2 separate regions of the Homo sapiens genome follow, and region 2 is linked to region 1. The links are contacts of gene promoters, found by promoter capture Hi-C in blood cells and fetal thymus (Javierre and others, 2016). All regions are on one chromosome and are shown on one strand. The core of a region is centred on a gene start or on the middle of the fragment in contact, and the rest is flanking DNA. Distances in the headings are between cores, read along the strand shown.

What was found. The method cuts DNA at HindIII sites, captures the fragments that hold promoters and counts their contacts. A CHiCAGO score of 5 or more calls a contact.
Region 2: a contact is called between a fragment that was not itself captured here and the fragment with the promoter of POU6F2-AS1 in region 1, in 4 of 17 cell types (M2 macrophages, megakaryocytes, M1 macrophages and 1 more). The highest score is 7.4, in M2 macrophages.

What each region holds. Positions count from the first base shown.
Region 1 is chr7:39,405,029-39,407,848 of GRCh38, forward strand. It overlaps POU6F2-AS1 (POU6F2 antisense RNA 1), which reads right to left and starts at 1,318. Exons shown (of 4, transcript NR_046711.1): 1 at 1,306-1,318; 2 at 989-1,091. It overlaps POU6F2 (POU class 6 homeobox 2), which reads left to right. Exons shown (of 10, transcript NM_001370959.1): 6 at 1,572-1,712. The HindIII fragment of the contact is 9,360 bases long and covers 1-2,820 here.
Region 2 is chr7:38,931,602-38,934,473 of GRCh38, forward strand. No RefSeq gene overlaps it. Among named protein-coding and RNA genes, the nearest start is that of VPS41, 24 kb to the left of the region's middle. The HindIII fragment of the contact is 915 bases long and covers 951-1,865 here.

The DNA of each region.
Region 1 (2,820 bases), core at 68-2,567:
CTTTTAGGAGAGAGATAAAGGCAAAAGACATAAAGTAATCAACTTAAAATGGATTCTCATTTTTTTTAAAAAATGTGCTGGGTCAGCAGAATTACTGAAGAACAGTTGTGTGAAATTTAGTTATAAATGAATAAAGAAACCGATAAGATAAAGATACCACATTAATGAAAAAATAGTTATTAAATTCCTGTCCTTTTTGATGTTTTCTCTGATAATTAATATTTCCTTCTTCATAAGATAGTATAATCTCTAGGCAAATTTCCAAAGAAATTAAGAAATAAAATATGATTTGAAGGGAAGAAGGAAAAGAGAGAGAGAGAAGAGAGACTGAGACAAAAAATGAAGAAAGGAAAGTTTTAAAAGTGGCATTTTTAGAAGAGCTTCCAAGACTTGAATTAGGTATGGCATTAATTTTTTTCCACCTAGTCTTAGTCGTGGCAGGTTTCTGAAAAAATGCAGGAATTTCATGGATGTGGGAACTGGTGATGGAAAATGCATTATTTCCAACACAACAATTGTTGTACTTGAGAGAAACTATATGGGGAAAAAAATAACACCCTAGAATAAATACAAATGAAATTCATGTATCAAAACCAATACTGTGAAAATAGTTTAAATGTTTCTTGAATTTATATCTAGTCATTAACCTAAATGCAGATTTTAGTTGAAGCCACACTTCTGCCTCATGGTCAGAAGGCCTGAAAACCTGTGGCGTGGAAAATTGGCAGGAAGGAGAATATTGAATTGGTCTCCATGGAAAAACAGATTTTGGCAGCCATAACCTCCTCCCCGGCAGGTCTCTCTCCCACTCTCTCTTTCTTCCTCCCTGTTTCACTCTTGTCCCAGGAAAGAGGCTGAGGAAAGACCATGTATCAGCTACAACAGCAAGCAGTTGTCAATCTGACCATTCATCGAACAACCTTTCTCATTGGCATTGAATCCTGTGGTTTAGGTTAAAGCCCCAAAATTGTCGCAGCCCTAGACTCACCCTCTGAGAGCACGGAGGCCATAAATTCCATTTCTACTGGCTTTGGTTTCCTTCTCCCCTCAAACAAGAAAGTGGGGTGGAACACCTGCCTCGCTCGATGTCCCTGAAAGAAACTGCAATTCACAAATGGAAATGATAAATTCATTCTTAGAAATCCTAAAAATCTATTCCTCTCTTTCCCCGATCCCCATCCTGTTTACTCTCCTATTCTGTCTGGTTACCTCAGGGAAAGCAGATATTTCCTGAGTTTTATTTAGTCTAGAGGGCTTCTGCGAAATCATTTCTCCACCCCAGAAGGTCCTAACAGCCCACCTCACCCCTGAAGTTCAGGCTCGTTCCCTCCTGGGCTAGCCCTAAACCCAGACTCCACCAAGCTCCCCAACATTTTCCTTCCAGCCTCGTTTCCATCATCCCCCTACCCCAGAGCTTCCGGGGGAATGTTCGCCACGCCCCTCCGGTGGGTTCCAGGCCCTTTGCATGAGCGAATTGAGGCGAGAACTACCTCCCCAGAGTCAATGTTGTGTCCGTGTGCTGTGCCTGTGCCTCTCGGTGGTTTTCACGGTGATCTTTTCTCTCTTTGCAGCTGGTTAATAATCCACTAGCAAGTCAGGCTGCAGCGGCTGCAGCAGCCATGAGCTCCATAGCAAGCTCACAGGCCTTTGGCAATGCCCTCTCCAGTCTTCAGGGGGTCACAGGTCAACTAGTTACTAATGCACAAGGACAGGTGAGTGGGAGATGGGAACAAGAGTGCATTTTTATGGCAGATTGAACTCGGAAAGGAATTGAATTTCTTTTGCATGACAGTGATATGTAACCGCATCTATTCGAGGCAAATAAATAATGTTTACTAGCAATGTCAAGAATAGGAGAAGGGTTGGGAGGTGTTTCTATGTTTTAGAAGCAAGATTTTTTTCCTACCTCTAGATTGCCAAAGTTTTATTTTGTTTTTATCTCTGTACTATGACTCATGTTATGACCTTATATGAAGAAGTTACTTTGCATTACAGGGGGCATTCTTTCAAAAAGAAAAAAGTTACATCTTAAAAATAAAATGTCAGTTTTGCTTTTTTTTACTTTTCACTTAAGGAAAAACTTGGATAATGAGGGAAACTGATCAGTTTCCTTCCATAATTGCTGTGAGAGAGATATCAAAATTAGTCTTAACAAAGCCAATTTTTGAATGTATGGGAAGGTGATGAAGAAGTCTTGTAAAAGCAACAAAGAAAAGGGGTGAGTTAGAATGAAGCCAATTGCAAGTCAGCCCCATGGTCCCTGGCCTCCTGCCAATTCCTACGGAAGCCAGGCAACCTCTGGCATGCTTGTTGATTTACTTCAGTATGTCAGGGGTAGTAAACTTTCCTCATGTCATGAGAGAGGGTCTGTCCCCTCAACGCTGCTAATGTGCCACATAATGTTCATACTAGATCCTGGAAGAGCTTCAGACAACCCAATAAACCCAAAAGCTGCATAAAAAGCAAACGAGATGAAGCTGATGATGTCGGGGTACCCTCCATCTGAAGGCCTGTCTCAGAGCCCAGTGGTTAGGACACTTGGTTCTCCAGTGTGACTGATCATGAAATCCAAGGGAGAAGGAGCTAGCATTCTCACAAAGACTTTTCCCCCCAGCCTTATCTATTTGCCCAGCAGTGTGTTTGCATACTCCCTGCTTGGCCTGTTCTGTGGAGAGCAGGCATTTTGATGTCTTGAACCCTGTTTTTATTTTACATAAAGAGTAAACAAAGATGCATTATAAGCTAAATCGTCTCTGTCTACATTCCAGGGAAAAAAAGCTGACCTTGTTTTATTTCCTGGGCGGGTGTGGTATTGTCCCG
Region 2 (2,872 bases), core at 158-2,657, 470 kb before region 1:
AAAGAAGTTTTTTTTTTTTTTTTTTTTTTTTTTTTTTGAGACAGAGTCTTGCTCTTATTGCTCTGGCTGGAGTGCAGTGGTGTGATCTCGGCTCACTGCAACCTCCACCTCCTGGGTTCAAGTGATTCTCATGCCTCAGCCCCCCAATTAGCTGGGATTCTTGTGCCTCAGCCTCCCAAGCAGCTGAAATTACAGGCACATGCCACCTCACCTGGCTAATTTTTGTAGTTTTAGCAGACATGGGGTTTCGCCATGATGGCCAGGCTGGTCTCAAACTCCTGGCCTTAAGTGATCCACCCACCTCAGCCTCCCAAAGTGCTGGGATTACAGGCATGAGCCACCATGCCCTATCAGAGAAGAGATTTCTTGGAGAGAAATTCATCTTACTCCTCTATTGTCAGGATTGAAAAAATATCCTTTATACTTTTAAACCCACTATCATACTTTTTAAACAGGATTTTTAAATAAAATCTATGCTTCCCTGTAGATTAGTAAAGCTAGATTTTAACAGGTAAACTAGAAGGGGTTAGAATTTAAGACACTTCAGGTAAATATAAAGGAAATCTATGTTTATTGACTCAATCCTTAGGATATCAGAATGAAAATATATGTGTGTGCATGTTTGTGTATTATTCTCCTAGCCATTTTTCCTCCCTTCAATGCCCAGATCACCTACCTGAAAACATGGTGGAAAGTCCAGAATTTACAGTAGATTTCTTAGTGCTTGACTTAAGTAGAATAGAGGAAAGGCACAACCTAAAAAGCCAAGTGTGCCCTTAGCAAAAGCAAATGTATTTGTTTGGTTTTTCTGCCCACTATAATTTCAGGAACTCTTACTCATCTAACACTGAAAAAAAAATATACAGCTTTAAGCTTAAAAAAAAAAAAAAGAAAGAAAGAGAAAAGAAAGAGAATTTTCTCCTCCCCAGTGCTTGTAATACCCCATTAAAAGCTTGGGAATAAAACTTCCTTCCCTATCAATGTTGTCCTTTTCCATTAAGCAAATATTGATTTCCTCTCCTTCCTTCCCCACCTCTACCCCCCTTAGATACGGGAGTCCAAATTACCATTGGCTCTTTTTGTTTACTTCCTTCTTTGTGTACTAACAAGGCTGAGTGTTTGTGTATTGCCTGCTGCTAGGCAGCCAACAGGGGGCGCTCACTGCATATTTTGATGAGGGGAAAAACGATTGGATTCAAAATAATCTTCAGTTTTCCTTGCACTTTCAATGCAAAAGTAAAGACTATAGTTCTCACACACAAAGGTTTTGCAAATGTGTTCAGAAGCAACGTGAGGAAATGTCTAGGTCAGGGAAGGAGGCCTTAGGGAGAGCCAGTATTTATACATGGAATGGGGATTTGAAGTTCCTAGGGACTTGGGTCCCTGAATGATTTGGGTCATTGATCATCAATTACACCTAAATTTTCTGGGCTATAATGACTAAATTTATTGGGCAATTTATCAACTTCTCACTTTGTGTACTTGGACACAGACTGAATAGTCAGAAAATATGTTCTAATTTTGCTTTCCCCCCGTTACTCTGGAGCGTCTCTTAGCATTTAGTTTAGGCTGCTCCATGTATAGGATGCAGAATGGAATCCTGTATTCCCACCGACAGTTTCTCCTAAGAATAAACTTCTCGGTGTCAAAATGGCAAACGAAAATAATAATGACACTTCGGGGTATATAAAATTTTAAGAACAGTCATACATTATAAGATCAAGGAAAAGCTGGGGAGGTGTTAGAATTTTAAAGTAACTCTTATCTACTTTGATTCAGATTCGATTTCAATTGAGAAAATTCCTAAAAATAAAACAACATGTAGCCTATTCAAATATTGTTTGATTTTCATGTTTAAAAGGTCAAGCTTTAAACTTGAAAGGAGTTTAAAAAGAAGTTGTTTGAGCTCCAAACAAATGCTAGCAGAAACAAGTTATTTTGAATTATTTGCTTCTAAAGACAGATAAAAAGAGATCAGACATAACAAGCTCTCATTAGAAGAAAATATAGTATATGGCAAGCCCTGTAAAATTTATCAGGATCTAACATTAAGATATACCCAAATTCATGGGTATATATTGAGATTTTTAAAAATAGTTAATATTGCTTACTGTTGATCACACTAATAAATAAGGTTTCCTATAGAATTATTAAAGCCTTCCTTTTGATTTACACAGCAAAGACTTCAGTAACAGTGATGGCGTTGCTCATTATTCAACAAAAACCACAGGAAAAATGTGCATCTTAGAAACATATTTTGTTCTCTTTCTGAAGCCCAAACAACTTCCAGCTAAAAGACATATTTTGATTAAGATAATATTTTTCCCTAATCAATATTTTTTACCTCTGGGTTATTACTTCCTTGAAGGCTTCTCTGACTTTTTTTTTTCTTTCTAAATTAGTCCATGTAGTTTATGAGAAATCATCAGCACTGCCATACGCTGCCGTTTACATTAAATCTTTCCCTTCATATTTACTGCTGGGTGGCAGGGCTTGTCTCTAGCCTTTATGGTTTGGCATCAAATCTTGAAATGTGTATTTTATACTTAATTGGAGTGGGGATAGGAGCACAGGAGCAGAATTAACCATTAATGAAATAAGACTCCTCTCAACCAACATTCATGCTTCCAATTTGGTTGGCAACATGCCTGAACACTGCTTGGTGTGAAACCACAACCAGTGTGGCGTGCTTGTTTCAAACATGGGCCTAGAATTGTGTGGTATTAGATCTGTGTCAAATTGCTGTAAAAGTGTCTAAAGGCTTACTCTGGATTTCTGTACTTATTGCATTACATCCGGGTGGTAAGTACTTTGCAGACCAACACTGGTCTGTGGACCACACTCGAGGACCCCTGGAGTGCTCCAAAAGAGC